Regions from separate parts of the Homo sapiens genome. Here all the other regions are linked to region 3. Evidence: promoter capture Hi-C in human tissues and cell types (Jung and others, 2019). All regions are on one chromosome and are shown on one strand. The core of a region is centred on a gene start or on the middle of the fragment in contact, and the rest is flanking DNA. Distances in the headings are between cores, read along the strand shown.

Region 1 (5,247 bases), core at 1,760-4,259, 820 kb before region 3:
TGAAAGCATCCACCACAACAAAGAGTCACTTTGTTGAGATGATATCAAAGTCCAATCTTGCTTTCTTCCCTTCCCCAAAAAGTGCTGATTTTGAGACTACTCCTTAATAACCTAATCTCTATCTCAGGGGAACCCAACCTGCAACAGGTGCATACATGATATTAAGTAGCCATTCTTTCTTCAAGGTCTTGTGATATGGTTTGGATCTGTGTCCCCACCCAAATCTCATGTCGAATTATAATCCTCAGTATTGGGGGTGTGACCTGGAGGGAGGTGAATGAATCATGGGGGTGGCTTCTCATGGTTTAACACCATCCCTCTTGGTGTTGTCGTTGCAAGAGTGAGTTAGCATGAGATCTGGTTGTTTACAAGTGTGTCACACCTCCTGCCTCTCTCTTCCTCCTGCTCTGGCCATGGAAGACATAATTGCTTCTCTTCACCTTCACTGTGATTGAAAGTTTCCTGAGCCCTCTCCAGAACCCCTCATGCTTCCTGTACAGCCTACAGAACCATGAGCCAACTGTACCTCTTTTGTTTATCAATTACCCAGTCTCAGGTATTTCTTTATAGCAGTGTAAGAACCAACTAATACATCTTGGGAAATGCGTTACAATGAAACCCTTTCACATTTCTGCCGAATGGAATAAACAAATATTATAATTAGTCTTATATCAGTTAGATTCAAGTTTTGCACCCAAACGAGTTTCAGAAAATGCATGTTTGGAGTTTTTAAATTTCAGAATTCTGGATTAGGAACTGTAGACCTGCATTTAGAAGCTGAATGTCCGACCGGGCACAGTGGCTCACGCCTGTAATCCCAGCACTTTGGGAGGCCGAGGCGGGTGGATCACCTGAGGTAGGGAGTTCAAGACCAGCCTGACCAACATGGAGAAACCCTGTCTCTACTAAAAATACAAAATTAGCCAGGCATGGTGGCGCATGCCTGTAATCCCAGCTACTAGGGAGACTGAGGCAGGAGAATTGCTTGAACCCGGGAGGTGGAGGTTGTAGTGAGCCGAGATTGTGCCATTGCACTCCAGCCTGGGCAACAACAGTGAAACTCTGTCTCAAAAAAAAAAAAAAAAAAAAAAAAAAAAAAAAGGCCGGGCGCAGTGGCTCACGCCTGTAATCCCAGCACTTTGGGAGGCCAAGGTGGGCGGATCACGAGGTCAGGAGATCGAGACCATCCCGGCTAACACGGTGAAACCCCGTCTCTACTAAAAATACAAAAAATTAGCCGGGCCTGGTGGCGGGCGCCTGTAGTCCCAGCTACTCGGGAGGCTGAGGCAGGAGAATGGCGTGAACCCGGGAGGCGGAGCTTGCAGTGAGCCGAGATTGCGCCACTGCATTCCGGCCTGGGCGACAGAGCGAGACTCCGTCTCAAAAAACAACAACAACAACAACAACAAAACAAAACAAAAAAAAACAAAAAAAAAAGAAGAAGCTTAATGTCCTTGTTTTCCCAAGAAAGCTTCAATTTGGCAAACCAAGCCATGTAAGCCAGGCCCATCAGAGATTTAAATTTTTTCATAGACAAATACTGAAGTGCTTTAAATTAGCCTGTAGTTTGAGATACACAAACTAATCTAAGAAAGGAAGACTGTAAGTTACCACATTTAAAGTAAACAAGTCAGGTAATTTCACACAATAGGTCTTCATGTTTAGCCACTTACTACAGTTTGGAGTTGACAGCTTTCAGGTGAATCACTATAAGGGCTATAGTAAAGAAAAGGGGAATTCTCTAATTCAAATTTTCCTGGTACTTCTGCTCTCACCCAACCCTCGGGCTTCAACCTAAGGACTTGAATAAAAGGGAAAGCACCAAAAAAACTCCAAGAAAGCATAGTTTTGACTGTCTTTGGGAAAGGCATCCTAATTTGAAGGTAGTAGATTAGGTAGTAGTATAATGCGCTTCTAAGAAAAGGGAAAATATCATTTAGCCCCATCCTGCAATACTGCCAAGCCCTCAGTTTTGTAAGGATGGTACATGGTGACATATAGGGTGACTTTAGATAAGAGGTTATTAGATGAAAAGGACTGGTGTGAATATTGAAATATTTAAGATGCAAAATCTTTGCTGTCTTGGAGTTAGTGTGTCTGTGACTTTAAAATGCTAATTAAGAGACATATTAAACACACATATATATACATAAAGAAGTCAAAGTACAATTTTTACTTTAATGGATATGAACGTGTTTCATAACAATGACTAGAATTGTGTTTTCAAAGCCTTTTTAAATAATCTACCCCTCTCGGCCTGGTGCGGTGGCTCACGCCTGTAATCCCAGCACTTTGGGAGGCCGAGGGAGGTGGATTAACTGAGGTCAGGAGTTCAAGACAGCCTGGCCAACATGGTGAAACCCAGGCTCCACTAAAAATACAAAAATTAGCTGGGCGTGGTGGATGTGCCTGTAATCCCAGCGACTCAGGAGCTGAGGCAGGGGAATCGCTTGAACCCGGGAGGCGGAGGTTGCAGTGAGCCAAGATTGCGCCATTGCTCTCCAGCCTGGGTGACAGAACCAGACTCTGTCTCCAAAAAAATAAAAAATCTACCCCCCTCATCCTTATATCCTATCTCTTCGATTGTTATAATGGCTCTGGAAAGAAAGGAGGGAAGATATATATATTTTTTGAGACAGAGTTTTGCTCTTTTTGCCCAGGCTGGAGTGCAATTGCATGATCCCGACTCACTGCAACCTCTGCCTCCTGGGTATAAGCATTCTCCTATCTATCTCAGCTTCCCAAATAGCTGGGATTACAGGTGTGTGCCACCACGACCGGATAATTTTTGTATTTTTAGTACAGATGGGGTTTCACTATGTTGGCCAGGCTGGTCTCAAACTCCTGACCTCACGTGATCTGTCCACCTCAGCCTTCCAAAGTGTTGGGATTACAGGCACGAGCCACCGTGCCTGGCCAGAAGATATAATTTTTATAACCCACATCTTAAAGAAGAAAAAATAGAGAACAAAAGGTGTTATTTAAAAATCACATGACTAATAAGGGAACGAAGCCACGATCCATAGCCACTCTAATCCCATGTCCCTTACACACATTGAGTATCCCTTATCCAAAATGCTTGGGACCAGATGTGTTTCAGATTTCAGAATTTTTTGGATTTTGTAATATTTGCATAAACATAATGAAATACCTTGGGGATGAAACCCTAGTCTAAAAACAATATTCAGTTTTTATGATTCCATATATCTTATACACATGACCTGAGGTAATTTTATATAATATTTTAAGTAATGTTTGGTGTGAAACACAGTTTGTGTACACTGAACCATCAGAAACAAAGGCATCACTATCTCAGCCATCAACATAGACAATCTGTGGTTGTTTGGCATCACCATCATTCATAACACTAAATTTATATACTACTGATGAGCAATCATATTCTTACACTTATTCACACATAAATATATAAAACTAAAAAAAAAAAACATGGTATACCACTAACACAGTGAAAAGATAATGTGTTTGGAATAACTAGGTATCAGAGTAGAATGACCAGAATACCTCCATCAGCTGTGAAACAACAACAACAACAAATAATGCAGGCTTTTAGTGTCCATCTATGATGCTGTGTTTTGATTAAAAGGTTACGATACACTGTTTTATTTTCTTAGGTAAAAAGAAACATCAGAAACAGCTGAGAAACCAGGGAATAGGTCCTACAGGGATAAGGGGGCTTTCTGCTGGATGGCTTTTTAAAATGTTTCCTCCAGGGTCATTTGCCCATTAACAGTGAATTTTGTCTTAGAAGTCTCTTTTTGATTTTATAAACTCCCATGACTTCTTGTTCTGTTATGAATGCACCATGCTCTAGTCCTTCAGTGAGCCCATAACACATTTTCATCATGTCTTCTGTAGATAACTTTTTGTGCAATGTTAAAAACATTTTCATTGTCACTATTACCACGATTGCTTTGATTCAGAGCGACTTCTGCAATTTCACCATCAGTCAATGAAGGAACAACTCGTTATCAATGTTAAAAACTTCTGTGATATCCATTTCTTCCAGTTTACTGATGGACTCTGAAGGATTATTTTTTTCTCACCTGACATAGGGAATCTTTCCAAGTAACCACCTTTTTCCCGAACACAGTCATAGGTCAGAGGTTGTACCTGGCATGCAAAACTGTGTCTTTAGTACTGTGTTCCAAGCATTGACAACAGCATATACAGCATCCTTCATGCTAAGCTTCTTTTGAAAACCTTCCCACACCCAGGTCTTTGTTCACTGCTGCTAGCATGCTGTTCAAGAAAGTGTTTTTGGCCAGGTGCGGTGGGTCACGTCTGTAATCCCAGCACTTTGGGAGGCCGAGGCGGGCTAATCACAAGGTCAGGAGATCGAGACCATCCTGGCTAACACAGTGAAACCCCGTCTCTACTAAAAATCCAAAAAATTAGCCAAGCATGGTGGCACGTGCCTGTAGTCCCAGCTACTCGGGAGGCTAAGGCAGGAGAATCGCTTGAACCCGGGATGCAGAGGTTGCAGTGAGCCGAGATCATACTACTGCATTCCAGCCTGGGTGACAGAGCGAGATTCTGTCTCAAAACAAAGAAAAGAAAAAAAAAAAAAAAAAGGAAAGTGTTTTTGTATTTACTTTTCATTGCTCTAAGGATAGTCTGTTTACATGGCTGAATTAATGAAGTCACATTTAAGGGAAAGTACACGGCATAAACATTGTTTTTGATGAGAATTTCAGCTGCAGGATGAGTAGAACGGTTGTCAAGGAAAAACAAAATCTTGCATTCAACATCCAGTCCAGCTTCCCAGCGATGAGCAGGAGGTGCTAGTATAAAATGTTTGGGTGAAGCCAATAAGAAAAGTTGTTCCCGGTAACCGATGCATTTTTAGTAGCATAATAATTGGTAAGAAATTCACTCCTTGGAAACTGAGGATGCAAGCTTTTGCCTATCACAGCAAGTTTACATTTATGTGTGCCTGCTGTATTAGCACATTCCAGCCCAGTCATTCTGTCTTTGGTATCCTTCATTCCTGCAGGGGCTGTCTAATGAACTGTGGTCAATGCCTTTGTGGAGGAGCAATGTTAAAACAGTGATGTTTCATCAGCATCACAGAAATGTCCTGGTGTCAGATTTTTATCAGTGATGACCTTGGCAAACTCAATGATGAATTTCTCCACTGCTTTGTGATCAGCAGATATTTTGTCACCGGGAATCTCTAAAGATTTAACGCCATGTCTTTTCTTAAATTTTTGTGTCCAGCCTGTTGAA
Region 2 (5,439 bases), core at 1,249-3,748, 640 kb before region 3:
TTTAATTTGTGCCTTTAGCCATAAGAATTAGGAAGTTACCTGGAGTTCATTTCCACAAATGATATTACAGAGGCATAATAGATTTTCTTCAAGTGTCTATACATTATGAATGTAAGGTTACTATGTATCTGACAAAAGTAATTTGTATAGAAGTAATTCTAAAAACTATTTGACGTCTATTCAAAAACCATTTTCTGCACTTAAAGTGAAATGACTGTAGAAATTTGCTAACCTTTCATGACACAGTGACTTAAAAATCCATTAAATGTTTTTAAAAAATGCACTGCTTGACTCTTTTGTAATTCTAAGAGCAAACAGCTATCTGACATTTTCAGGATCATTAAATTAAAAAATGATAAGGAAGGAAAATCATTAACTAATTTATATTTCTCTTCTAATGGGAATAGAATTAGTAATTACTTTTGCTGTTGAAACCTCCTGTAGTCAGTCACTTGTGTCCCAGTAGCATGCCTATCATTCAAAGTATGGGACCTACAGACCTTAAGTTACAAAAGTTCACAGCTGTATTTATAGACCAGTATTAAAACAAGTGGCATGGAATCTTCACACTCAATCGTCCAAACTACCATTCTCAAATTTCCTTCTCCTATGTTGCACTTACTGGTTTTCTTTTTATAGACTTCAATAATGTTTTGCCCAGTACCTTACCTATTATAACAATAAATATTTTCTAAATTAACACATGAGTCAATTTGGGCATTTGAAAAGAAGAGAAGCAAGACAAAAACTCAGATGTTCAAGACTTTCATTCAACAACCGTGGGATTCTTGGAAGTTATAATAATCAGCCATTACAACTCAAAGTTTTATCTAATTTATAGGAAAACTTATGAGCACTCAAGGAATTAATTCCTTCACATTTCATCTGATGTACTTGTTGAAATGACTATAGAATTCATGGTTTAAAATGAAGCTATCTTCATTTCCTCTATCTATTTTCTCTACGGCATTAGTAAACTAACTGCCATATGAAAGTCACATTTATTTTATTTCAGTTCTAAAATCATATTTTAAATTCGGGCAATTCATCTACCAGTAACATTTTATATGACATTATATTTTTTCTAATAAAAGTTGAATTGAAGAGCAAGTTAACAGACTGTTACCCCTAAACAGAAATTACGAAACCAATCACAAAGTAATTTATTAAATTTTTAAAGTAATACTTTCTTGTCAAGCAGACCTGTAAAATTAGACAGTACTGTTTTATAGTACTTACATTTGATAAAAAGTTTGTTCATGTCTCTAGTGATATGTTATTGTGATTTACAGGTTATAGAATAAATTTTCAAGAGGGGCCAAGACTAGCATTCTAGTTTGCCCATATAATTCCTTAATAGAAAAAGTAATGGTTCTGGTAACCTGAGCTTGCCACTAATCATCACTTATTTTTCTTAATGATAGATTGCTACTTCCCTAAGCATAGTAATTTGATATGTTGAAAGTGGTTACTGTTAAGTTTAATATATTAATTTGTCTTGACTGGCAGCTAATAAAATGCTATATTATTGATGAAAAATTAATATCTAAAATTGGAATAAACGGAAAGGCAAACTTAACCAAACTTATAAACTCAGTATTGTACTTTTAAGTAAGTTTCTTGAGCACCCCTCCTGTTAAAACTAGAGTGCAGTTTTAATGCCACTCTTCCATCAGTAGACAAGGTGTCTTATGCCAATTCCCACAGAAGGGGCTGCTCTGCACACAGTAACCCGAGGCCTCAACTTTCCATCACAGGCAGTATGCCAAATATAAATACCCAGGAGTGTCCTGAACTTTAAAGTGATTCCTAAATACGAGGCTCATTTACGAAGAACTTCAAAAACATTAAGCGGCTCTTGCATTCTCAATTAGAAATTCTCCTCATACTAACAGGGACTTCTGAGCGTATCAACACAGAGAAAGCAGTTGTTCCCATGTCTTAAAATAGCACAGATTGAACATTTAACCTTTCTGCTGCCCAGTCAGAGTCTAATTACTATTTTATGTTTAAACACACACACACACACACACACACACACCATTTTGCCTTCCTCATAATAGACTAGAACATAGATGAAAGTAAAACAAACTCATTGCTCTTTAAAAGTACAAACCTAGAAAAAAAAAGGTTCCTGTTTGCAGGAATTTGAAAGAATGATGTCAAACCAGTCAAACTCAATTTTTCTATTGAAAAGCGGGTCCTTCAAAGTAACTCTATTTTAAGTAATTACGCTTTAGTAAAGAGTTTGCTGACTTTTTTGATTATTCATTATGAGAGATAATTTTATTTTCAAATCCTAGTGTTATATTTAGCAAGTTACTAAGGCTCTATACAGGACATGGACTCAAGGCACTTAGAATAAATGTCTCCCCAAGACTTGTCACATGTCCACTGTTTATAAGTAACCCAGTTTATTTACTAGATACTGGCAATGCCTCCTTTCAGAAATGTAAACACTCAATTACTGAATTTTAATCAGAAGGATTATTCTACATAGAGTGGCATTTTCTATTTTCCTGAGCAATATTTCCCAGGCTATCATCTCCTCTATTTCAATATCATATATTAGGATTCAAGACCATCATATTTACCCCTTCCACTATGAATGGAGTGAGGCAAAACATGTTTATTAAAAATCAGTTAAATAGCTCAGCTTGATTTTACAAATATTATATACTATAAAATGTTTTCTATTTTGAAAGAAATTTGTATGTTATTTTTCTTTCATTTGGACATGTAAATAAATGATGATGGTGAATGAGAGCATAGGCTTCTCTCAAAGAGTGGTAGGATCATGTTCTTGATGCCAAAAACCCAGAGGATATGTCTTAGGTCTGTTTTTGTGAGCCCTGTAACCTTGAATAAGTCACTTAGCTATTTTGAAATTCATTTTCTTCACCTGTAATGGCATTTGCTCTCTTTTTAAATAGAAATTACATTCAATAAATGAGCATTTTAATGTGATAGATTTAAAAAACTGTCTGGTAAGTAGATGCATCAGCTCCTTCTGGAAGCATGACAGGTGCATGGTGTTACACTGTGTGTGGGCGCTGATCCTGGCAGGAATAGTCAGTGACCTGCTGTCAGAGCCCACGGAGATAACCTGAAGGAGCGCTCCAAATGTCCTTCTGCAAGCATTACCCACCTGGGGAAATTTCTCATCCAATGACTACCGAAGGGTAACTCTGCCATAACTCTGCTTTTCACTGTGGCCACCTCACCACTTGCACATGTTTATCCCATCTCAAGATGTTATCTGTGGTGTTTTTCAACATCATCATCTCAGAGATTAAGGCATCGCATATAACGGGAGTGTTTATTACTATGCATACATCTGGCATGTTAGGACTTGTCAAGGAAAATTGACAGCCTAATAGCTTTTTTCCTATATTTATCATCCTTGATATTAAAACTCCAGTTAAAAATGGCACTTGATGAATAAAGAATGCTGCACCCATGAGCATTATTTGTAGAGTCAAAAAAAATTTGCTTTTACATAAACATTAATGTACTTAATTTACAATGTTTTTAAAAAATTGCAACTCCTTAGACATGGTGTGTAGGTATAGATTCTTGGGTGGCTGTGTTATAAATTATGTACCACTTTTATGTTCTGTTATTTGTCATAATTTTTCTTATGTTTTGAGACTCACAAAATAGTTTTTTTTTTAGTTAGAAAGCTTTCCAACCTTCCTAATTCATATACATGGCAACTCCCTCACTTCTCTCCAGTGTTGCTTTGCTCATTTGTATGATTGGTTTAAATATGTGATCTCTTCATTGTACTATACATGCTTCTTTGAGCAGGGATTACCCCTTGTTCTCTGTGCCTCCACAAAGACTATTTTGCGAAAAAACAAATAAAACACCAATCAATGACATTTTTATTAAATTATAACTAAATAGAAAATGTTTCTAATGAAACGGTATAACGGTATTTTAAGGGGAGTTTTTTCTAACAGTAAACACAGAAATAAAACAACAAGCAAGCATTTTTAATATATTATAGATATTAACATCTGTAATATATAACAGTGGAAAAATTTGGTTCCTATTTCACACCAACTAATACTGTACAAAATAGTTATTGGCAGCTAAGAACTAAATTATAGTGAAGTGATAAAAAATAATTTAAACACATTATTTTAAACTAAACATCTTTTCTATGTATATGTAAGAGAAAAAAGAGCTATTGAAAAGAAATAAATTTTCTAGAATGAGTTTTGATTTTTTCCTTCTTCTTTCCTTCTGAATTCTTTAAATATCTGGGCAAATAAAGTATTGAGAAGCAAATTTACTGGTTAATAAAGTCTCAAAATTGAGTAATTTTCCTTCTATGTATATTTTTTTCTTAAAAATTTTGTTTTCATATCCTTCTATATACTTATCAGACTATTTTGAACTATAAAAAATCATAGATTATAGAGTCAGATATTTTAATCAGCATTACTGGTAATGAAATGGCTAGAAATTAAGAGCAACACAAAGCAAAAACTATATTTAAAAACAACTCAGAAAGTACCATTTTACTATTTAATATATAATTACTTTTCTTTAGAAAACTAAAAATCTTCACTCAGTAAAACTAATTATCTCTGTAATCTCAATCTATATGCCATTGTTTCACTGAAATATATCACAAATTAATTATGTCAAACTTTCTTCTGCAATGTCTCATATATAGCTCTTCTATTGCATTTTATTCTCCCCTCTTTCAGCTGATTTAAGTAACTTAAAATAAGTCTCTTTCCCTCCACATTTGCCACAATGTTTCTTTCTTCAAATCATCAGATTGAGTGGCAAATAAATGTTATTACTCAGTTCCAAAAGTACTGCTTGAATAGGCTCTCAGTAATTAACCAATATGTGATGAATTGAGAAGCATGAAAACAAACTTTGTATTTACATCTTAATTTTATAATGTTAAATTAAATATCATATTGAATGAAGTATATTTTAATGTCCTACAGTTTAACTAAATTTGATCAGCTTGACTTAATCCCTGGAAAATGATTTTTGGGTGCAAGGCAGGCATGGAAAAGAAACATCTAAGCAAAATATGAAAATCTAAATGAACAAGTTGCAACAGAAATCTGACTTTGAAAGAAAGACCAATTCATGAGAGTAATATACATGAAATTTTAAATTCAATGTATTTCTCATGAAATTTTGGTTGGTTTTCTAAATATCCTTCATCTACTTGAGTAAACAATTTAAATTTTGCACACATGGTTTCTATTGAAATGGGTAATCAATAAATATGTTAGTGACTGTTTTTCAAAAGAGAAACCCAACAAGAAATGCCAATATTTAATCCCTTTGTGGGCATGAATTTAACTTGTTGCCTAAACAATATACTGATAAAAAAAGAGGTTTGTATTAAATGCCGATTTCACTCTGTAGCATTGATTACACAATTAAAAAAGAAAAAAAAAA
Region 3 (6,134 bases), core at 2,120-4,619:
TGTATCTTAAATATGTACGAAAGCTATATGTACTTTTATAGAATGAAAAGCAAGACTGAGTTACCTGCAAAAAAGAAATGGGAACTGAACTTGTTCATCGTTTATCTACTAAGGTATATAAGAGTACCACCTCAATGCTACTATACATTTTCTTCAATACCAAGGCAATATTGATAATTTTCCATTATACAAGGAAGACGAATTTTAGAACCATTCCTTTGGTTAGCAAAGGCTTTATAATTGCCATATAAAGGGACTTTGGCTATATCTAGATATATCTAAATAAAATGCATAATTGAAAATGAGACAAAGTCCTTTAGAATTTCTAAAAAACATCCTCTCTAATGCTGAATTTTTTTCCAAGCAAAAGAAAAAAGAGGTTCTCTTCTGTTACAATTAAGAAATATCTTAAAGATCTATACAACAGCATCCCCCGCCCTATATTTTTATTCTGTTCACATAGAGCAGTAAATAAGGTGCATTCCTTCTGCTTAAGAAATTAGCATTTCAAAAATATGCCACTTTCCCCTGAACTCCAAGCGTGTCTAATAATGCGAGAAGCAGATTGTCTTCCCTCGTTTCCTTAATTTGTTTCATCTAAAAGCAATTCACTCAACATCTTGTCGCCCTCTGGCAGCTTAGTTTACTTATCCGCACTTAATTTCTCATTTGGACCAAAACAAACTCCTCCAAACTGCTACTGACTGCTAACCGCGAGAGGGGAGACGCGCAATATGTATTTAGTTGGGAACACACAGCCACACACATACATAGGCACAAACACACACAGCCTCACTCATACCCCAGACAGTAACTTGTTTTTATAATAGCACTGCATTAAAACCAGCTGAACTTTCCCTGCCAGGTGCGGCAGGGTGGGGGTGGGGGAGGATGAAAAACGAAGTCCCCCGGGGCATTTACAGTTTCCAATGGATCACCTTAGTATGCGTGTTGCAATTATACCAGGGATGCACCCGAGAGCTTTTCTTTGTGCGGCCCTTTCATCTGGATCACTTTGTGTTTTGAACAAGTGAGGCTCGCCTTTGTGCCCCCAGAATTTCAAGTACAGAGTCACACACGGAACAACAATGGCACGCTAATCCTCGCGCTCTAAATGGGCTCACTTGTGGGTCTGACAATTCGCCCAGGGAAACGAGAAGAGACGAAGCGAGGGCGCGAGCTAGTGTCGCCTGAGACGAGGAAGAGGACAGCTGCAGAACTAATTTGGATTACATTCCTTGCAGAAATTCTGAAAAGGGCTTTTCGGCATAGCTCAACTCGGAGCCGCACAGTTAATACCAAATTGCTGCGGACTCGGAGCGGGGTCCCCCAGTGGCAGAGGCTGAACCAGACAGCCCCCAGTAGGTCGCCTCGTAGAAATTCCTCTCGGCTAAGCCTGCATGTCGGTCGCCAATGCCTTTGAATGGGTCAATGTGCATAATCAACCCATTGAGGGAAAATATGAAGGGACTCGAAGTGGGGAGGGAGATAAAAAGAGATGTATCTAAGAGGCCGCTTGGAATGTCAAGTCCGTGTTGGTGTGATTCCGGAGGTGGCTGGAGCGCGGGACCTGGTATGCGTGAAGAATTTCGGAGTAATTGGGAGGGTGCAAACGGCCAGCACAAACGCCTCACATGTGCCATTCGAAGGTCATTTTGAAAGACTCGATAATTGTAACTTGTTATTTACTAGGCAAAGGAGGCGGCGGCGGCGGCGGCGGCGGAGCGGGAAAACTACAGCTAGCCGTTTTCTTGGTGAGGTCAGAAGGACACCCTCCGGGGGCCTAAAGCGCTCCCTATCGCCACTCCCGGGGGCTTTATCACCTCAAGCTACTTCCCACGCTCCAGTCACCATCCCTGGATGGTTTCGGAAATCTCTCTGGCTCTCCAAAAGGCACCCCTTGGCCACGTCAAGACACCGGTCCTCCTCAGACCTCTCCCGTCCCACTTTCATCCCCAGGAAACTCTAGTGTCAGAAACTTTGAGCTCCATTGCACTGCAGGTGCTGTCATTAGTCCTGCAAGCCGTGGCGGGCCAGCCCCGCCGCGCTGCCTCTCGGGGTCAATTAGCCCTTTGCCTGCCCAGGTACCTGGGGCTCGAGCTCTCCAGCAAGCAGTGGCCGCGCACCCATCGCCGCTGCCGCTTTCGCCTCGGGTGGATCCAGTGACCCGCAGGCTCGGCAGCCTGGCCGGGCAGTAAACAGACAAGTTTGAAGGACTCCGGCCAATAGCAAGTTGAACTACAGGAAGAACTCTTCCCGGAGCCAAACACGGCAACCGACGGGAAGGCCGGGCTTCTGGCTCAAGTGTGCCAAGCCTTTTTTTTTTTTTTTAAGAGGTCAGGCAGGCGAGTAAGCGCCCCTCAAGTCAATGGGGAGAGGGCTCCGGGAAGCCGGCGGAAGAGGCCCAGAACTCCGGGCCCCGGACCGAGGCGCGCCCGCCTGCTGCACTCCGGCTGCCCGGGCTGGGCGCGAGTTGCGTCTGACGCCACAAGGCTCGGGCGACTGGGGGCGCAGCGGTCGCCAGCAGCACACACAGGTGCAAAGCCCGATTTTCTGAGCGCCGCTCTCCACCGCCCTTCGGGCTCGGCTCGGGAGAGGCCCAGCCAGCACCGCCCCAGGACCGCGGCCCCGGCGGTGCGGGTTCTGCCCTCGGGGACCCGACAGGGACAGAAGAGTCTCCTCTGACTGGGGATTTGGGTCTCCCATGTCCCGAACAACAGGCGCCACCAGAAGGGATCCCGCTTAGGCTCCCAAACAAAACGCTCGGGAAAGAAAAGCAGGGGGTTAAGGAGAGAAAAGAGGGACTCAGAGTGATTTTTCACGATAAATAAAGCAAACGCACACATACAGGGTAAGTTTCAAATGGAAAGAGGGGTGACCGAAAGCCCAGGGAAGAGGCCCCGGTCAAGCGGTCCCTCCACGCCTCCCGGGATGGGTGAAGAGGGCAGGGGAGCCACTCGAGGCAGCCCCGCCGGCGGCTGCAGGTTCGGCGACCGGAGTGCCAGAAGGAACCCACCTGACTGAGAATCGCTGGGCTGGACGGTCCCCGCCGCCACGAGAAGGCTCACCCAGACCCAAAGTCCTGTCGCCGGCTTCATTTTTTGGAAGTCTCAGATCCCGTGCTGACAATTACATGTCCAAATGGCATATCCCCCTTTCGGGCACGCGGAGGAGATCCCCCAGCCGGGCGCGCGTGGGGGTGCGAGGGGGGCGGGCGCGGCGCGCGCGGTGTGGCGACTCCCAGGGCGGGCGACCGAGTCCGCGCCCGCGGGTCCAGGGCCGGGGCCCGAGGAGGGGGCGAGTGTGAGCGCGTGTGTGCGCGTGTGGGAGTGTGCTCGGTGTGTGCGCTTGGCGCTCTGGGCCGGACTGTGCAGCTATTTCCCCGCGTGAGCCTTCGCTTGCTCGCTCCCTCCTCACTTTCTCTCTCTCTCACTGGTTGGTCAACAATAAAAAAGGAAGGGGGGCGAAAGGTTTCCAAAAAAAGTTGATTGCAAAGAGGCGGTAGGTTTCCGGCCTCTCCCCGCAGCCGGGCTATGTTCTGCTCCTTCTTCAGTTTCCTTGCACCTCCAGTCCAAATCGGGAGGGGAGCGGGGCGGGGGGAGCTTCTCGCTTCTCCCCGGATCCCGTCCTTCTTTTTCCTCTCAGCTTTCCTCACACTTGTCCGGCGGCTGCGGTAATTAAAGCTCCGAGCGTCATTTCCAGCGCTCCGCGGTCTCCAGCTGCAGCCCACAGAGAAATTAATAAGACTCCAGAAAAAAAAAAAAAAAAGGTGCGGGGGGCGGTGGGAATAAAACAACCCTCCACGCAACCAGGCCGGCTCTGCTCAGCCGCGCAAACCCCGCCCATGCTCTGACCCAACTAGCCACGCCCTTCCCCCCCCCTTCCAAAGGGAAATCTTATTGGCTCAGCCACTCCCCAAAATCCTGGGCCTCCGGAGTTGGGAAAACACCTGTCAGGGAAAGGGAGCCTCTTGGTGGGGGCAGGGGAAGCTGGATTTAAAGGGCTCACCGAAGCCATGCACTGAAGCACTCGTCTTCCCTCCCTGGCAGAGGCCTGGGACAGCTGGCCTGCTGAGTGGACGGACCATTGGAGGGCCGCTTACGGAAATTTTTTTTTTTTTTAAACAAGAAAGTCAGCATTTTCTCCGTTGCCCCACGGTGCTCATCTACAGACAAGACTTTCCCTAGAAATAAAAGTCAATGTTGCTTTCAGCAAAAAGCCTCCGCCCGCAGTACTCTGCCACTCATGGTCCACAATTAGAAAGTACTTTAAAAGTGTGTACAGCAAGTAACTGGTAGCCCCTGAGGATTAGGTAGTGGTAGGGGTATAATCACCGCCCCGCCTCCCGCCCCCAGTTATGCCATCTCTCCGATTACTCCCACATTTCTAAACTGACCAACATTGAGCCAAACTAAACTTTCACATTTATAAAGGCATATCCTTTGATTTTTAGATTTTATGTTTTTTTTTCACCTTTGGAGTTCATTCTTATTAAGCAGATTCTAGTCCAAAGCCACTGATTTGATCTTAAAGGGCTAGAAATTGTCCCCAGCCTGAAAGAATTTAAGGAGGCCACATCAGAACATAATTAACCTTAAATGATTCTGTTTATTCTACAGTAGACCCAGCTTTAGGCCCCTTCCTTGTCCTCACTCTGCACATTCATGGTCCCTAATCTGGAGGTCATTGCTAGTTACGAAAGTCTCTGACCTTTTCTGAATCTAAAATATTCTGGGACTGGGTCATTTCAATGTACATATCCCTTGCCTTTTACAGCTCTGAAACCGCACCCTGGCAAGGGCCAGAATCTGCTGGGGGTAGTTATTGGTTTGCTATTTGTACAGGCATTCTATGTATGAATCACTTTCCTTTTTTGGTTTTTCTAGAAGCAGCAAATATATAAATAAAAAGTATCAGGGGAGCTTAAAAATCAAACCACCCTGCCTTTCATTTGAGACCTTGATCTCCATTTCCCACTCTCTTATCTATAGCCCCATCCCTTAAGAATTTCCATGGAGCTGAGAACAGATAGGAGGTACAGATGCCTGAAGCCTGAAGCTTTCCCTTTCTTAGACCCACAGCAAATAACAGGCTCCATGAAGACGCCCAACAAGCTGAGCGTGCGGTTTTACCAGAAGCAGCCTAGGGCAGAGAGGAACTAAGCCTAGAGCAGATGACGGAGACTTGACCAGAATGGTACTGATTGCAGCAAAACTGTGCACACTGCTCTTTGGGATTATCTTTGTTTTCTTTTCTTTTCTTTTTTTTAATTACTCTTTCTCTCTGTTTTCTCTTCTTTCATTCAATCTCTTCTCATTCCCCTTGTCTTAAATCCTTTTGAAATTCTCAGGCACCTCTCTTCCATAAAAGCTACTTCTTTTCAAAACTTACTTTCTGTCCCTAGAATGACAATTTAAATGAGAAAAACATCTTCCTTTTGTAAAAGTTTAAGTCTCTGTAGTAAAAAAAAAAAAAAAGTCTGGTTTCTGATGGCAATTATGTTGCACGAAGTGAAGGAATGGGCCAGGTGTGGTGGCTCATGCTTGTAATTCTAGCATTTTGGGAGGCTGAAGTGGGAGGATCCCTTGAGGCCAGAAGTTCCAGACCAACCTGGGCAACATAGTGAGACCTCAACTCTACCTTTTTTTTTTTTTTTTTTTAATGAGCTGGGTATGGTGGTGCACACCTGTAGTCTTAGCTATTGGGAGGCTGAGATGGGATAGAATTGCTTGAGCCCAGGAGTTAATAGTTACAGTGAGCTATGATCATGCCACTGCACTCCAACCTGGGAGATAGAGCAAGACCCTATCTCTGAAAAAAAAAAAGAGAGAAAAAGAAAAAGAAAAAAAAGACAAAGTGAATAAATGAGTTGCATATTTTCGCTTAAATTGTAGGGCAAAAACTTCATGGCCTGAATATTTTGGATTTTTTTATAGTTGTGCCAATTATGTTAGTTTTTGTTCCCCTGTCAATTTTATAGCTTTTCTATAACAGAATATCTTCTATATGCCCTGCTCTCACCCATATCTTCTAGAATAATTCTTGACAAAGGAGGATTTTCCATTAATATTCATTGGTTTAAAAAAACACTTAGTATATATTTTTGTGGATATTAAACAGCCCATACAAGGATT
Region 4 (5,881 bases), core at 3,152-5,651, 680 kb before region 3:
AAAAACAAATGACAATTGGATAAGCCTCAGCATATTCTGGGAAATGTTAAAAGCATCCTTTCAAATAAATTATTTGCCAAATTTGAATACAATTTACCTACCTGAAACTGTTTCATTCAGGTAAAGTCTATTACAAAGGTATACATGAGATTATAGGTTAATGTTTTACACATTACGACAAGTAGCTCAAGAGGCAAGATGATTGTTTGAGAAAAGGTAATTTGAAAGTACTGAATTCTCCGCTATTGGGAAATGCATGTATTTATTATAGTAAGAGTGAAGCACACGGGTAAGGATCTCACAACAATAAATCCTCTGTCATCTGTATGAGGAAAATGGTGAGTACCTCCAGGATCTGAGAAGTTATTATTAATAGATGGCACGATGAATGTAAGCGTGCTTCTAATTCTGTAATTTGAAAGCATGCATATGTTTCTCGATGTAACACACACATTTATTTACTCATAGACAAAGCTGCAGTTATGTTCACACACATAACGTCTTAGGGAAATAAGACTGAAGGAGGTGAGAAGAAAGAGAGTGTGGAAGAGGTGAAGAAAGAGATGGAGACAAGGAGACAGAGTGCACAGTGATACTGAGACCAAGAGATGGAGGTTTCAAAAGGCCTGCATAAAGATGACTTGGCTGATGCACATAGTGAGAAAAAGCAATGAGCTGATTGGAAGACTGCACAGTACCCTTACAGTCCCGTAGACAGTTCCATAACCAAAGTTAATTGCTTTGATCCTCCAATGTTTTTGACATATAAAAGTATATTCAGTAAATTAACTTCCCTAAATCTGAAATTTAAAGCTTATGAAAAGTCAAAACAAATGTTTGAAGACTAATCAAAATAAAGTCCTCAGCATGGTTTGATTTAGACCATTTTGTACTAGCTTACCAAAATTCTCTATTGAGTTAAATAAGGAATGTAACTAACTAAAACTGGGAACAGAGTTAATAAAATCATGGCTCACAAAAAGCCATTTTTTTTTTATTTTGGCCAGCAATAAAATCCTTGGCTAGCGTTTCTCTGTTAGCTATAACAAAAACCTAGTTGTAAATAAGAAATAAAATTTTGAGACAGATGTTAGCTGTAACATAGAAATATACTTTCCATTAACAATCTGGCATGTTGTATGGTGGTTCTACTCCAAAAGGCAATGTATCTTTTAATTATTTATTCATTTTTTTTGAGATGGAGTCTTGCTCTGTCGCCTGGGCTGGAGTGCAGTGGTGCGATCTCCGCTCACTGCAACTTCCAACTCCCCGTTCAAGCGATTCTCCTGCCTTAGCCTCCCGAGTAGCTGGGATTACAGGCATGCACCACCACACCAGGCTAATTTTTGTATTTTTAATAGAGACAGGGTTTCACCATGTTGGCCAGACTGGTCTTGAACTCCTGACCTCAGGTGATTCACCTGCCTCAGCCTCACAAAGTGCTGGGATTACAGGCATGAGCCACTGTGCTTGGCCGGCAATGTATCTTTTAATGTAACTTGATAATATTGTCCTCTGCCTCTGCAGCCTTCCCAGACATATTACTAAAATTAATTCAATTTTAGCAATCAAAACTGTAAATGAACTTAGTTATTCAGCAATCAATGAAATCTAAATGAAGAGTCACTGTTATCCAATTCCTCATGCATTCCCTTAAAATCTCTTTCTCTAGAAAAAGTCTTTAGATAAAGGCAGTTCACAAATATATGGCAACCCTAACTTATAACTTGATTATCATGTTATCACATCCCTATCTGGTTCACATAAATTATCTAACCTTTGTCAAATTAGAAAAATATTTGGATTCACATTTTTTAGGCTGAATTTCATGAATACTGTAATATACCTATTTTGTATTTTATAAGCTTAGATAGTAAAATCATTCAGGTAAATGACTATTCTTTAAAAGATGTGTTATGTTTAATAAAGTTTAATATTAAAATTCCTAAAAGTTAATTTTAAGTTCACTCCAGAGTTATGGAGCTATGTCTTCCTCTGTAAGAAATAATACAAAATGAATCCTGACTTTGTAGTGAAACAATTCCCTCGTTTTATTGTAGAAATATTTTGGGGGTGGTGACTCTGTGATTGCTTTGGAATTAAAGCAATCTGCTCATTATCTCATATTGGATATGAAAGCTGAAGGCAAGAATAATGCAAAGCACACATATAATTAGTAGGTTATATACCCAGAAGTAATCAGTTCTGTAAGACACACTTCTTCAATGTCCAATAAGCAGAAATGATTAGCAGCAATGAAAAAGAAATGTAAATGTTTTCCATTAACTTCTTTTCCTATTTCTGGTAGAAAAACCACAAATAAGTGATTCATTACAAACGTATTGGCAATGGTAAAACAAAGAAAAATTGTTAATGCAATCATTAAATTTATCTTACAAGTTTCTGTAATTGTTTAAAAACATAAATGGTGGTTATTATACGCCAAAACATCTCTTGTCATTCATTTTAAATATTTGTCAAAATCAATTTAATTCTGGAAGTCTATGTGAGAAAAGTCACAAGCCAACTGCTATTGTAAGTCGCAAACTTCTTAGAAGAGCTCTTTCATTACTAAGTAAAGTATACCATGATTGTATGATACTGGACATAGAGAAACAAGATTTGCCTTTCACTCTTTGTAATTTGACTTGTTTGTGCTTTTAAGTTACTCCAATTATTTTCTAACTTTCAACATTATTCTGATTAAGTCCTAGCTACAGAGTCTTCAAAAGACTTTTATAAGCCTAACTCTTAAATTGCTGCTTTCTTTGTTTTAGCAAGCACCAAGGAACTAATAAAACAAGTTTACTCATGTCAAATTTTAGATTAAAAACAGATTGCTCCTTTTATGTGATAACAGAGTTGAAGCAGGATGAAGTCACCTCAATTATCATTGTCCCTGGGTTTTATTGTACACTACTCATTTAAGACAAATAATTACCTAGGCCTCTTAGCTTGCAAGTGATTCACACATTATAAGTCTGTAATGTTCTGCATTTCTGCTCTCTTGCTAGTACAATTAAAGTTTATTGACAGTAAATATAGTAAATTTTAATTTTTGCCATATAAATACTTAGTGCTATGTTACTGACAGAAAGATGATTTCCCAAACCTTAGGAAATACTTATGCAATGTTTTATTTAAATATTAAAAATAGGAATATTCACTCCTACATTAACACTAGCATGTTATAATACTACCATGGTGTTAGGCTCTATAATAACCATTAGAGAATAATTTGGCATGAAAATAAATCATTAATTTTATTTCTCTGAAATAAAAAATACAACTCAAAAAGAATTAGGAAAAAACAAAGACAATATATTACATTATATATATTTTATATATATATAAATATATAAATATATTTAAATATATTATATAATATAATATATTATATATTTATATATTTATATATATATAAATATAATATATTTATATATTTATATATATATAAATATAATATATTTATATATTATAAAATATATAAATACATTATATATATTTATATATATATTTTATATATATATATATATATATATATATATATTAAAAAAAAGTAGTTTTTTTTTTTTTTGAGACAGAGTCTCACTCTGTCACCCAGGCTGGAGTGCAGTGGTGTGATTATGGCTCACTGCAGCCTCCACCTTCTGGGCTCAAGCACTCTACCTCAGCCTGATGAGTTGCTGGGACCACAAATTCATGCCATCAGTCCAGGCGTGTTTTTTTTTTTGTTTTTTTTTTGTTTTTTTTTTTTTTTTTTTACTTTTAGCAGAGAAGAGGTTTGGCTGTGTTGCCTAGGCTAGTCTCAAACTCCTGAGCTCAAGTCATCCGTCATCCTCCCACTTCAGCCTCTCGAAGTGCTAGGATTACAGACACGAGTCACTACACCCAGCCCAAAAACAATATTGATGGAACCCAAACACAATTTGAATATTGCCATTAACAATATAAAGAAAAACCTATAAATATTGGCTAAAGACTAACAATGAATTGTTTTTATAATTTTCTTCATCTCTCACAGGTGATACATGCACAATATGTTCACACACGAAGTCTTGGGTTATCTTTAAGAATAAAAATACTCATTAAAAAATTACAGAAAATGTATTACTCTAGAATGGGTGGGATTTGAGGCTTGGAACAACAAGGAAGCTACAACTAAACAAACAACTCAGTGGATGAAATGAATGTGTGTGATCAGCAAACAGCAAGGAAATGAAAAAACTAAAACAGAGGATTTGGAATGCTGACCAATGGGGTTATAAAATGAAATGCTAATTTTTTCACTACTATTAAAGCCAGCAAATGATCTTTTAAAAAATTTTAAAGCATAAATGGGTAAAGTCATGTGAAATAAAGGACAATTTCTTTTCTTTTTCTATATTCAGCATTTTAAATTCTTTAAAGTTGTATCCAAGTTAATATAAAACATATTTATTCAAAAATTTTATTTAACCTTGCTGTTACTAAAATATTTAAAGACACAGATAAAAGGTAGTGCCATATCTCTCTTAAAAATCTCATTCAAGATTCTGATTGCATGACATGTAGAATAATCATTAGATCTAGCAAGTGTTTATTTTCAAGCTAGAACTCAAATTTTCCATTTTAATTTTTAACATATTTATCGGCTAAAGGGATAAAAACAATAACAAGTTTACAATAATTGTATGATGATAAAATCACAGCTAATAGTTTGTTAAAGCCAAATTAATGCTATAACATCTGTTTCTTATCAGCAGAAAATAAGAGTTTTTACACTATATTTTTAATTCAGTAGAGAATATATGCTTTGTTCTCAATTTTTTTCAAGCATTGTCTTAGATGAGAAAAGGCAATTTTCCAGAGATTCCTGTTCAAACATAACTTCTACAGAATATGTTCATAAGTCAAAACTCACTAGATTAATTCATGGAGACAACACTGCATAATTGAAACTCTTGTCATTGCAATCACTGATTAAAACTATTTTCTTGGCTATATTTTTGTGAAATAAAAAAGGAACTTTTAGAATAGGTGAAGAAGACTTCTAAATATATAGTAAAGATACTTTGCTCAAAGAATTTAAAATGGAATGAACTGCATAAAACTGATATATCAGATCATTATTTTACTTAGAAAAAAGGGAATTTAATATGGTTCTATCTAAAAATAAAGTGTGAGTAAGATAATACCATAAAAGGAATTGTGCTGAAGAAAAATAGTGAGAGGTGAAGCCAGTTGGACTTCCTGGGTCGAGTGGGGACTTCGAGAACTTTTCTGTCTAGCTATAGGATCGTAAATGCACCAATCAGCGCTCTGTGTCTAACTAAAGGATTGTAAATGCACCAATCAGCACTCTTTAAAAATGCACCAATCAGCACTCTGCGTCTAGCTAAAGGATTGTAAATGCACCATTCAGCACTCTGTCTAGCTAAAGGATTGTAAATGCACCAATCATCACTCTGTAAAAACGCACCAATCAGCACTCTGTGTCTAGCTAAAGGATTGTAAATGCACAAATCAGCACTCTGTAAAAACACCCCAATCAGCACTCTGTGTCTAGCTAAAGGATTGTAAACACACCAATCAGCACTCTGCAAAAACGCACCAATCAGTGCTCTGTGTCTAGCTAAAGGTTTGTAAATGCACCAATCAGCAATCTGTAAAACGAACCAATCAGCTCTCTGTAAAATGGACCAATCAGCACTCTGTAAAATGGACCAATCAGCAGGACATGAGCAGGGACAAATAAGGGAATAAAAGCTGGCCACCCCAGCCAGAAGCAGCAACCCACTCAGGTCCCCTTCCATGCTGTGGAAGCTTTGTTCTTCTGCTCTTCACAATAAATCTTGCTATTGCTCACTTTTTGTGTCCGCACTACCTTTATGAGCTGTAA

The links. The method cuts DNA at HindIII sites, captures the fragments that hold promoters and counts their contacts. A contact is called where the count stands out against the background at its distance.
Region 1: a contact is called between a fragment that was not itself captured here and the fragment with the promoter of ERBB4 in region 3, in 1 of the 25 tissues and cell types used here (lymphoblastoid cells).
Region 2: a fragment that was not itself captured here is called in contact with the fragment with the promoter of ERBB4 in region 3 in 1 of the 25 tissues and cell types used here (H1 embryonic stem cells).
Region 4: a contact is called between a fragment that was not itself captured here and the fragment with the promoter of ERBB4 in region 3, in 2 of the 25 tissues and cell types used here (dorsolateral prefrontal cortex and lymphoblastoid cells).

The regions. Positions count from the first base shown.
Region 1 is chr2:211,715,294-211,720,540 of GRCh38, forward strand. The region is part of intron 7 of ERBB4 (erb-b2 receptor tyrosine kinase 4); the gene reads right to left. Among named protein-coding and RNA genes, the nearest start is that of MIR548F2, 710 kb to the right of the region's middle. The HindIII fragment of the contact is 3,105 bases long and covers 1,458-4,562 here.
Region 2 is chr2:211,898,361-211,903,799 of GRCh38, forward strand. All of the region lies in intron 3 of ERBB4 (erb-b2 receptor tyrosine kinase 4), which reads right to left. Among named protein-coding and RNA genes, the nearest start is that of MIR548F2, 530 kb to the right of the region's middle. The HindIII fragment of the contact is 7,476 bases long and covers 1-5,439 here.
Region 3 is chr2:212,535,433-212,541,566 of GRCh38, forward strand. ERBB4 (erb-b2 receptor tyrosine kinase 4) reads right to left here and starts at 3,370. Exons shown (of 28, transcript NM_005235.3): 1 at 3,017-3,370. The coding sequence starts at 3,098. RefSeq lists an enhancer at 1,901-2,401. The HindIII fragment of the contact is 8,258 bases long and covers 1-5,676 here.
Region 4 is chr2:211,857,606-211,863,486 of GRCh38, forward strand. The region is part of intron 3 of ERBB4 (erb-b2 receptor tyrosine kinase 4); the gene reads right to left. Among named protein-coding and RNA genes, the nearest start is that of MIR548F2, 570 kb to the right of the region's middle. The HindIII fragment of the contact is 6,124 bases long and covers 1,340-5,881 here.